Regions from separate parts of the Homo sapiens genome. Here all the other regions are linked to region 1. Evidence: promoter capture Hi-C in 16 types of primary human blood cells and fetal thymus (Javierre and others, 2016). All regions are on one chromosome and are shown on one strand. The core of a region is centred on a gene start or on the middle of the fragment in contact, and the rest is flanking DNA. Distances in the headings are between cores, read along the strand shown. Region 1 holds the start of ZC2HC1A (zinc finger C2HC-type containing 1A). Region 2 overlaps STMN2 (stathmin 2). Region 3 has its middle 110 kb from the start of MIR12123.

Region 1 (3,891 bases), core at 678-3,177:
TCACAATTAAACACATTATAGTTAATGATAGCATCTTATTTTGTAAAAAAAAAAAATCTAAAAGTAAAGGGCAAGCACTATTAACATCATAAGCTGGGCCCTATAACATCATAAGCTGGACCCATAAAATATGCCTATAAATACAGAATCCTACCTTTGTCCACCTATGCAACTGAGTGTCATAATAGGTTTCCATTATATTTTAAAAACATTCGTAGTAAGGTTTCAATAGTAATATCTTAGCACTGTTAAAATGTAAGGTCCACTAAAATGTAGGTTCGATGAGAGTAAAGCTTTATCATTTTTATTCTTTGCTGCAACCTAGAACCTAAAAAGATGCCCATAATAGACATTTATTTAACAACAAATATTTATTGAGTACCTACTTTGTGTCAGACATTGTTTTAGGTGCCTAGGATACATAAGTGAAAAATCAGATGATGATCTTTGTCTTAATAACAAATGTTGAATAAAATAATAAAAATCTGCAAACTGTTCAAAACACTTTATAGATAATATGTAATAAAACCTTATCATATTATATATGATAATCTCATGAGAATTCCATAACCCATGCTTTAATCCCACCAAGATACAAAAGTATCTTGAAAGTAAAATATACTGTACTATCATTACAATTCCTTATTTCATGGAAACTTGAATTATCTTCCAAAAACACATAAGCAAAAAACAAGACCTTCATTAGGCCATAGCATACTGCAGCTGTCCACAAACGGAAAATTATCAGAATCATTTATCAGAGCAAAAGCACGAAATAAACTTCTACTCATGTTATTACATCTGCTTTTTGGTGAATAGGTGACTGAAAAAGTTACCGGCTACCACTTTGCACTTCATCACACAATGTAGAATATTTTACTCCCTGGCATGCAACAATACACAAGACTCAAAAGCTTCTGCTCATTCTTAATTCCAACTGAATCCGTGTAAACTAGGAGACGGGGGAAAGGAGCTAAATCAAGACAATAGGATCTTTCAATTCTGAAGGTTTGTTCTTCATCATAACAAATTAAAAAATCTTGAAACTGTTGTTGCCAATGCTAGTTATTGTGGTTTTTGTCCTTCCTTTGTTTTTAGGTGAATGCTTTCATTACACAGGATAAAATGGGTAAACAGAATAGAGAAAAAGTGAAAGAACTGGGAACAAAGCAAAATCTGGAGTCATGGTTACAGTACAAAGATAAACCCAAAGATAAGGAACCAATACAGGCTCTTCCTCACACAGCGGCCGTGAATAAGTCATCAAATCCTCCGGGTAATCTATTGTACCGGCTCTAAAGCTGGCCAGTGACACTTCCTTAGGAGATGCTCTGACATCCCTCCGACAGAAGATGCTGTCGAAATGTAAAAAGCCGGTTACCTAGGGAAATCGGCCAAGGAATGTCAGGAGCTCGAGGCTGGAGACACACCCCGGGGCTGCAGCACAAAGTGGCCTGTTGGTGTTAAGGCCGTGGACAATAATGGAGAGAGTCCAGTACAAGGAAAACAAAATCTGGCCAGAGACTGGGATCACTAAAAGGGCACTCAGGAGTCAAGCAAGATCAGAAAATGGTAGGAAGAGACGTGCAGGCGTCTTGCCAGGGGCAGGATCTGGCTCCGGGCGGGAAAGCCCAGTTGAAGACCGTCTGAGGCGGGGCAGCCTGGTAGCGTTAGCTCCACCGCATCGGGGACTGTCCGGTTCCCTTCGGCCCCAGCCTCCGGAGGCGCGGCGGGACGCGGCGAGGTCCGCCGCACCGAACCAGCCCTCGCCTTCCTGCTACTGGTGTCCAGGGTCCCCAGCTGTTTCGGGCCCGCTCTAGCCGTCCTGCCCTCATCCCTTCATCGCCTCACCTTCCAGTCCCTCCATCGCGCCACCTCCTCGAGCTCAGCGAGACTCCTTCAGCAGCGCCCGCCACCGCCCAGCTCTGGCTGTAGCAACCCAGCCGCACCTCCCACCCGCTAACATTCCGAGCTCCCATTGGTTCCGCAACTGCGGGGGCGGGGATCCGTGGGGGCGGGGCCGCGGCGGAGGCGAGGTTCCTGCGGTCTCCTCCTGGCTGCCACCCCTGTCCGTCTCTCCGGGTTACTCTCCAGGGAGCCGGGAGCCGCTTCAGGTTGCAATCTGCGATGCAACGGCGCCTTTGTTTGACTCCAGCCTTGTTTTGCCTCATACCTTATCCTCCTATTTAGAGTACCTCAGCACCTCATGGGCTCCGCTTCACCAGTTCCTCAATCAGTCAATGCCTCTGACTTCTAGCCGCCATCCCTCCCAGTGGATACTTTAAGCAGGCAAGCAAACCAAACAAACGCCCAGCACGCTTGCATGCAGCAATCTCCGTTTTCCGGTCTTTGGTCGCATGACTTGACCTCAGCGTATCCCCTACACTTGATCTTCACACACAGCTTCATAGGTTAAGACACTTTTTTTCCAGAGAAATCATACTTTCTATCTGCGATTGTGGAACTGCGATTGCTCTAAGCCCTTGAAAACAGTTTCCTCACCATGAAAGCTTGGGCCAAAAATTAGAAGTGAAACCCAGCCCTCCCTCTGTCTTCTACTCTTGGCCTACCTTGGCCCTATACTTTATCATCCATAAACCAAAACAGTCGCCTGGCCTGACAATGTTTGATCGGGGAAGTTTGAGTTGGGGAATTAACCTACAACCTGACAGAATGAGGCCCGCCCGTCTCTAACAGAGTTCAAAACCTCCTGAAGATGAAAGTAACTTCAAAACTAACTCAGACCATTTTAACGGTTTTGCTTACAATTACCAGAACTACATTTCTTTGAAAATTTGATTTAGCAATCGTAAACAAGCTGTACTGTTTGCTGACTATAGCGTATCTACTGGCAAGTTACCAGTATTAATGTGTTGTCCATAACAAACCTCGGATTAATGTTATTGTTAATCTGTTTAATTGAAGAGTTTAACTTCATATCTAACTTCATCTACTATGAAATCAGTTACCTTCAGGAAGCAGGATTCCTCCTACTCTCCACTCACATGAAGGTATGTTTAAACAAGCAAACACTTGAGGGGGCATCATCTCTTACTGAGAAGGTGCTCCAAGTGCATTTGAATGTGGTAGAGTCCATCTGTTGTGTGGAGCCATGTAAAGACCACTTCAACCATGCCTCAATGACTCCCTCCGCCCTTCCCTGGTTCCCCTGGCTCTTCTGCTTCTCTGAGATCCTGGGCCTCCTTGGCCAACCCATAGCCTTGCAGGCAATAAGCTACTCTAGACTGGGTGCTGCGGAAAGGTCCTTTTTCTTCCTTAGTGCTACTAAGGCAAAGGTAGAATTTTTGGTTGGGAGGGAAGGCCTTTTAAAAGAGCATTAAGGAGAAAAAAAAGCACACAGAAGAAAATACAAAAATAAGGAAGCCATTATTTTACAAATTACAAGTTCTTTCACTGAAGGCAAGACGAATATTGAGTTGGCTGATACCTTATTCGACATAAAATCTACAGTAACATTAAAAATAATAAAAATAGCATTAAAGAATAAATCATGTGAGGCATGTTTTAGGCCATTTTCATATATTCACAAATCTTCAAAAGAAATCTACAAAGTAGATACTACAATCTTCATTTATCAGAATTAAAATGTTCATTTTCTAGATGTCTCAGAGCAATTAATATTTTGTCAATATTTGTATTATTAGTGGATGGTAGAGCTTGGCTACACTCTTGTCTGTTAAATTCTAAAGCCTATGGTGATTTGATTGGGCTCCTCACTCCCTTTCCTTGCCTTGCCTTTTATTATAGCTGCCTCAAGTGTAAACCCAAGCGTTCAGACATGTTGTTTAACATATATTTGAGTAGGCATTTCTATTGTGAATCTTAATTCTCTAAAACATGATTGCTAGTCTTCCCTACAGGTATCTTCAT
Region 2 (3,891 bases), core at 422-2,921, 950 kb before region 1:
GGGGTTGTTTCGTGTGAGTTAGGTTGCTCCTCACTAGGAAGCCCAAACTGGGAAACTATTATTATAATAGGTTTACTGTGAGCAGCTTTGTTAATGGAAGTTAAACTTTATGGCTGCATTTCATAAGGAAAAAAAACTTCCAAAGACAGAGTAGAATGCTAATAAAAATTTAATTTACACTTTAACATGCTCTCTTGTAAAAGTATTTGTGGGACTAGGTTTAGATAAATTTCACTCAATTCTCTTTATCCTGATATAAAGACATACAACTAAAAGATGGACAGATTTATTATCCTGATGATCTATTGTTATATTGGGTACTTGTACTAATGGTTAATGTGCGAACTCCAACATCCAAAATACAATTATTCCAGAAGAATAACTGCTAAATGGGCACTCTTGCAGGCGTTGCTTTACAATCTTTGTAAAAAAAAAAAAATCATTCAGTCCTAGGCAATATTTTTGCCCTATAAAAATAAATTATTTTAAATGTGCTCTATGAGAACTGTAATTATCTATTTCTTGCCATAAAATAAATTTTGAAACCCATAACTTTCCAGAGTATTAAATATTTTACTCTGGAGGTCAACAACAAGTGAGAACAAACTTAAAATATTTTTGTTATGGTTTTATAGTATAATATGTGGCTCCTACTCTAAGTACAATTCCTAAAGAAGCTATATTTCCACATGACCAGCAAAATGATGGCTGAAATGCATTAATTAACCTTTACACTCATATAAAAGTGTTTTGTGAGAACAAATGTACACAAATGTTATCTTTAATCATGACTAATAAAAATGGATATTATAAACACAAGCTTTACTACTGCAAATGTCTCCTTGACAAATGACAGGGCCTGATTCCTTTATTAAAAGATAATTAAAAATGTTTCACAAGGGATTCAAAACCTTCCTACAGTTCTCTCCTGCCTGCCTGCCTGCTTTGATGGTAATATGAAGAGAATCTTGAAATAACATCTAATAGTTATATTAAATGTGAATGTGTAAATTTATTTTATTCAACAAAATGTTAAAACTAAATATCTCTGGCCTATGGAAGTAGTTAAGGAGGCATTTTGAAATGTGCTAACCATGATGGGACTGAGGAGATTAAGTCAATGTTATTTCTGGAACTGGTCATCAGAGTGTGTTCCCACCAGAAATCGATGCTGTGCTGAGCCTGCAGAACGCCATGTGTCTCATACGTTACAACCCACACGGCCTCATAGCTCTCTTTCTCCCAAAGCCTAAATCATGGCAATTATTTGAATAAGCCCCAGGTAAGCTATTAAAACTAGGCATCAATTTGGAAGTATTTTCTCTTCAAGGTGAGTCTGTGATCAGAAAGGAGAAGACCATCTCTGGTCTGTTTAAATAAAATGGTGATATCACAGGTGTGACCTCTGCAATGGGAGCTCACCTCTAACATGGAACAGATATGAGACTAGCAGCAATCGGTGAAAGATGGATTCCGAAGCCAGATGGCCTGGGCCCAAATTCTGGATCTGACTAACTGTGTGACCTTGAGTAAGATACTTCAACTTTCTGTGCCTCAGTTTCCATATCTGTAATAGAACCTACTTAGGATTATTAAGTGATTAACACAGTTAATATGTGGAAAGTTCTTAGAACAATGCCTTGCATGTTATATGTGCTATACAAGGGTTAAATCAATCAATAAAAGTTACTTCCCATAGAGAATCTGGAATTTATGAATACACCAGAAAAACAGTTGAAAGAAAGCACCATTGCGGGAAAATGTTTGAGTAAAGAAATAGGAAGACTTATTGGCTCGAGGCCCTCAAGTTTAGATTTTTGTCATCTCCAAATGAGGTTATACAGAGAGCCCTGCCCGACTGCCAGAATTAAACATTTAAAACATGAATTACTTTTGTAATGCTGTCTTAAGTGTGTCTTCCTTTCCTTCAATGTACAAGAAATTGCAAAAATGGAAAGTTTCCCAGCTTCTGAGAGACCCTGAAATGAACTGTTAACAACAACTGAATGGCTAACTTTGAGACTTAGTCCAACTTTGTGTTGAGTAACAGTATATTCTGCAAACCCTGAAGCTAGTTTTATTTGGGATCATGTTTTTAGTGCCCTATTTGGGAAATGTTATATTTTTTAATTTGAGATATTTCGTGTATTGTATCATTTTTGCAGCATAATATTTCCAGAAAGGTGGTAATGGCTGCATGGTCAGCCAGTCACTGCATGGGAGACCTGACTATGTCTTTGATGCTATTCCTTGAAGATCCTCTTTCTGATCTGTAGGTTGACTTCCTTAGAAAGTTAGAATTGAATAATGAAGATCCTTTATTGGCTTAGATAAGCAGAAGAAAACACTCTTTTCAAATATACAGTCATACTCAATAAATTCTTAAGAATTTTCTCACATGGTATTCAGGAAGAAATACTCTTAGAATAATTTGGTAAATAATAAATATAAGATATATTGAGACAGCAATCTTTTGTTTTAATTTCTTCAGTATTGCTATTCATAAATGATAGTAAGCTTGCATTATTGATTTATCATCCTTGTCAACTGTGCCACAAGCCGCATTCACATTCATTTCTTCTTAGGCAGGCTGTCTGTCTCTCTCTCTCGCACACACGCACACATGCTCACACAGAGAGCCAAATTCTTATTTTCTACCTTTCTCTCGAAGGTCTTCTGCCGAGTCCTGCAATATGAATATAATTTTAAAAATCCAATTAAGAGAGAGTGATGGGGCAGAACACATAATTCCCAGAGTAATAAAATCCCCAGGTATATGAGTTCGGAAGTAAAATATTTTGTAAAGATTACCATAGATTTAAAAATGTTAAGACATAATACCAGAGCTTACCAGGAGGGATACCTGTATATTACAAGTTAATATCCCTAAAACTGATGTGTTTAGTGGTCAGAATCAGCATCATCTGGGAGCTTGTTCGGAAGACAGAATGTCTGCCTCAAGCCAGATGTATTGAATCAGAATTTGCATTTTAATGAAAATCAAAGGTAATTCATATGCACATCAAAGTTTGAGGAACACAGTAATATGACACTATTAAATATTTTATAGCTGGATTAGAATTACATAAAATGTAATCAAAAAATAATTCTATCAATGCATATTTAAAAAATCCACTTTTGATGATACCCAAAATTAGTTTATACTTATATATTTCTTCTTACTTCGTTAAAATTAACATCGATTTTCTAATAAACAGAAAACCACTACAAGGAGATGCTCAATAATTGTTGAAATCTGATAAAACTAGATTGAAATCACATTGGATTAGATTTAAAAAGGTATCTTTAAATGGAAAAGAAAGACAGACTTAGAAGATGGGAAAAATAACAGCAGTCAGTTTTTGGTACACCTCCTCAGTATCACATACCTGCCTGTTTTACTCGCTAAGCTGCATGTTCTCTGCAGGTGGAGACTCTGATATTCAGATGTGCTCTGAACAGGGGGCACATTTCAATCGATGAAGAAGTAAACAATGATTTTCTTTAATTTATTCCTTTATTTTTAAGCATTAAAATATTCGGCTGCTAAATAACTTTGCTATTACTACTGACATTTTTCTACTATTTATCCACTACAAAATCTCAGAAGTAACATAAATGGTATTATAATAACAATGTAATAAAACTGAGAAGTAAAACCATCAGGGAATAATTAACCAGGGCGTGTATCTACTTTCAGATTATGACCACTCATTTCATCCTGTCTCCTTGAAAATTGTACAAGCTCTGTTCATCCACTAGGGTAAAGCATGGCATCAGCTTATTGAATAAACACTTGAATGTTCCTGGTAAAAGAAAAGATTTTATTAAACAGTTAATATTTGGAACTAGGTTTACATCAATCATCTGCTTTTTTAGAGAACATGATTG
Region 3 (3,891 bases), core at 740-3,239, 780 kb before region 1:
ATGTACTTGACTTCAAATTATCCAAAGAATGATAGAAAGATTCAGATAGATAGAGCTGGAAGATTATATGGAGATTTCTCAAACAACTAAAAATAGAACAACCATTCAATCCAGAATTCCACTACTGGCTATTTCCCCAAAGGAAAATAAATCATTATATCAAAAATATACCTGCACATGTATGTTTATCAAGACACTATTCACAATAGCAAAGATATGGAATCAACCCAAGTATCCATTAATGGATTATTGGACAAGAAAAATGTGATATACATATATATATATATATATATATATATGCACACACACACACACAACATATACATGCATTTATGTGTATGTATGTATATGTATATACACACACCATGAAATACCATTCATACATATACATATATACACACACACCATGAAATACCATTCAGCTATGAAAAAGAATGAAAATTATGTCTTTTGCAGCAACATGCATGAAGCTGGAGGCTATTATCTTAAGTGAAACAACTCAGAAACAGAAAGTAAAATATCACATGTTCTCACTTAGAAGTGGGAGCTAAATAATGTGTACGCATGAACATAGGGTATGGAATGGTAGAGAGTGGAGAATCAGAAAGGTGAGAGGTTGATGAAACTCAGAAAGAAAGGTGGGTGATGAAAAATTACTTAATGGACACAATGTACACTATTTGGGTGATGGCTACACTAAAAACCCAGACTTCACCACTAAGCAATATATTCATGTAACAAAATTGCACTTGTACCTCTAAACTTATACAAATACATAAAAGAAATAGCTGGAATTCTAATATCAGAGAGGTGAAGTCCACCCCTGAAACCCAGCAGCGGTTAGGAGGCAGAAATTAAGCTCAGGAGAGCTTACCATGCCAGAATTCTATGGGTAAACTGATACAGAATGGAAGTAAAACAGTGTAAAAAAGGATATGAGATTTTGTGCTAAGTTCCAAATATTTAGGGATGATGAATTTGTGATGGTGAGTGGTTGGGGTTAGCTTAAATATTTGAAGAGTTGGAGAGTTTTAGGATTAAATGAGTTAAGCCAAGAAGAGTATTTAGAATAGTCACTGGCACATAGTAAATTCTCACTAAATGTTAGTTCTTTTTAAGATGTTTGTAATTTTTATCCCATATCCTACTCCCATTTCATATAGCAGCATAGTTGCATATCATATTACATAGAGAAAATTTGGGCTATAAGTTATGCTTTTTAAGCTTTTCTTCCCTATAGCTATATGCAATTATCCATTATCACTTTCTGTTTCACCACTTCCTCTCCTGAGTCAGAGGAAGTGGTTATTGATGGTTCTTCATCCCCACTTAGCTATACAGAACACACACACACACGTACACAAATTAGATTTTGTCAACATTAAAAACATTTTGTTTTCAAAAGAGTTAAGAAATAAAAAGACAAGCTACAGAATGGGAGAAAATATTTTCAAAACATATGTCCAAAAAGACATGTATCTAGAATATGCAAAGAACACTTAACAACTCATTGATAAGAGTACAAACCTCCCAATTAACAAGTAAGACAAATATTTGAACAGTCATTTTGCCAAATACATTTTGTATGTATACTGTAAACACGAAACATGCTCAGTATCTTTACTCATTAGGGAAATGCAAACTAAAAAGGGATACCAGTACCTATCTATTAAAAAGTCTACAATGAAAAAGACTGTGAATACTATGTTGAGGAGGGTGTGGAACAAGATGAACTCATACACTGTTGGTAGAAATGTAAAATGATGCAACCACTTTGGAAAATGAGTTGGCAATTCTTTAAAAAGTTAAGCATACACTCAACCATTCCACCCCATGTATTTACCCAAGAAAAATGCATGCACCCATTCAAACATTTGTACACACGTATTCACAACAGTTTTATTTGTATTAGACAAAAATGGAAACAATATATAAGTGGATAAACACATGGTGGTATATCCATGCATTTTCCACTGCAGTTCGAAAACACAGTTTATGACTTGATCAAAACGAGTTTAATGGTGACAGCTTCAAGTTTGGGGCCATTTTTCCTGTCTCTGGTATGGTGTGCCCTGCAGCCTGGCAAACTCTTACCTATATTTGAGATGCTGCTTGGTATCTCCCTTTGTTAATCTCTCACTCCTTGATCCCATCACAAGGTTCATTACTGCCTACTTCGGGACACTGTTGTGATAAGTCAATTTAGTAAACTGCGTAGCTGATAATTTTGTAACAAAGACTATATGTTATTCATCTTTGGTTCAATTTTCTCAACTACTACAAGAATAAATAGATGAATGTGTGAATCCTTAAAGAAGAGCTACACATGCCTCAAATGTTCTACTGGTGGGTGTGTGACCATACATAACTGGGCTGCCCCATCTGGGCTGCTTAGCTGGTCTAAGTTTGGCTGAAATTTTTCAGGAAAGTCATGGATTTAGATTTAAACAAACTATTTTCTAGAACATAAAAGATTCTTTCCTTGATACCGGACAATATCCTGAAAAGTCAGAATAATAAAAAATTTGGAAACAAACGAGTAGCTTTGCATAAAACCTAAGGTGCTAAATGTCATTAAAAAGGCAACTTTTTCTTCCAGCCTGGCCCTCGGGCTGTGTCTTGTCCAGAATACCAGGTGGGGTCAAGGGCTCTACCACTTTTCCAGTGATAAAATGTGGGCTGGCAACTGCCAAAATTCAGCTTAACAACTTAACTTGTAACCTATTGGGACAGAATAAGCTAGAAGAAGCTTTTCTGAGAGTCTGATGAAAATTAGCAGGCTTCTTTTTAATAGATTTACCGAGGTATACTCATAGTTTTCTATGTAATTTTAGGGACTTTGCTCTTCTCCAAACACTTATGATAAAAACCCTGCATCAAATAATAATAGGATAATGCCTCATCAGAATAATCAGGATAATTTGAGGAGAATTTATTAACAAACTATATTAGATCCTTTGACTGAGGTAATAAATTATCACGGATGTGGTGGCTCAAAACAAGAAAATATTATTCTTAATTCTGGGGACCAGAAGTCCAAAACCAATATCATAGGACAGAAATCATGGTGTTGTCAGGGTCGTGCTCTGGAGACTCTAGAGGAGAATCAGTCTGTGCCCATTTCTGGGCTGGCTTCTGGCATTCCTTGGCTTGTGGCTGCATCACTTCAGTCTCTGCTTTCGTGGTCATCTTGCCTCCTCCTCTTCTGTCTGTGTCTTTTCTTCTGTTTGTTACAAGGACAGTTGTGATTGCCTTTAGGCCCACCCTGGTAATCCAGGTTAATCTTCCCATTTCCAGATCCTTAACTTCATCAGATCTGACAGATAATTTTTTTATATAAGATAAAATTTGTGGGTTCCAGAGATGATTGGGTAGCCATTATTCAACCTCCTACATGAAGGGACTATTGATAAAGTAGGCAAGGTCTAGTAGGAGATCCACAGCAGGGAGGCTGGCCAGAAGCATAGGTTCTGCTTCCACACTTAGCACTGAAAGGGTGAGTGAAGGTGTGGTTACTGGAACCTGGAAGGAGAGAGTCATGTAGAGAAGACCTCCTTGAAAGAAATGGTATGCCCCCCTTTTTAAGGGCCACCACCAGCTCTAGACCACTTGGGAAGGAAGGCGGCAGGGAAATCAGTGACCTGATCCCCCCCTCTTCTTTCTCTCCGATCTGTTTCCCATCAGCAGCACTCAACAGGAAGCAAGTGGGCCACAGGCTCATACCTATTTATAGAATTTATGCAGGTTAAACTTCTCAGGGTAGACAGTAGGGTGGAGAAGAGTGAACAGTAGTTCTGGAGGGGTAAATGGAAGATTCTAGGCATTCAGCACAGTGGAGCATCATGTATAGGAAATTTTCATAGTTTCTTTTGTTGCAGATGTGTCAGCTTT

Evidence for each region. The method cuts DNA at HindIII sites, captures the fragments that hold promoters and counts their contacts. A CHiCAGO score of 5 or more calls a contact.
Region 2: a fragment that was not itself captured here is called in contact with the fragment with the promoter of ZC2HC1A in region 1 in 1 of 17 cell types (naive B cells); the score reaches 5.7 in naive B cells.
Region 3: a fragment that was not itself captured here is called in contact with the fragment with the promoter of ZC2HC1A in region 1 in 1 of 17 cell types (monocytes); the score reaches 8.2 in monocytes.

What each region holds. Positions count from the first base shown.
Region 1 is chr8:78,664,125-78,668,015 of GRCh38, reverse strand. It overlaps ZC2HC1A (zinc finger C2HC-type containing 1A), which reads right to left and starts at 1,927. Exons shown (of 9, transcript NM_016010.3): 1 at 1,852-1,927. The coding sequence starts at 1,867. LOC105375911 (a long non-coding RNA gene) reads left to right here and starts at 2,037. Exons shown (of 4, transcript XR_007060972.1): 1 at 2,037-3,011. RefSeq lists enhancers at 1,774-1,823, 1,788-2,295, 2,296-2,804 and a silencer at 1,894-2,113. The HindIII fragment of the contact is 1,596 bases long and covers 917-2,512 here.
Region 2 is chr8:79,615,617-79,619,507 of GRCh38, reverse strand. The region is part of intron 1 of STMN2 (stathmin 2); the gene reads right to left. Among named protein-coding and RNA genes, the nearest start is that of STMN2, 6.4 kb to the right of the region's middle. The HindIII fragment of the contact is 1,697 bases long and covers 823-2,519 here.
Region 3 is chr8:79,441,247-79,445,137 of GRCh38, reverse strand. No RefSeq gene overlaps it. Among named protein-coding and RNA genes, the nearest start is that of MIR12123, 110 kb to the right of the region's middle. The HindIII fragment of the contact is 1,525 bases long and covers 1,227-2,751 here.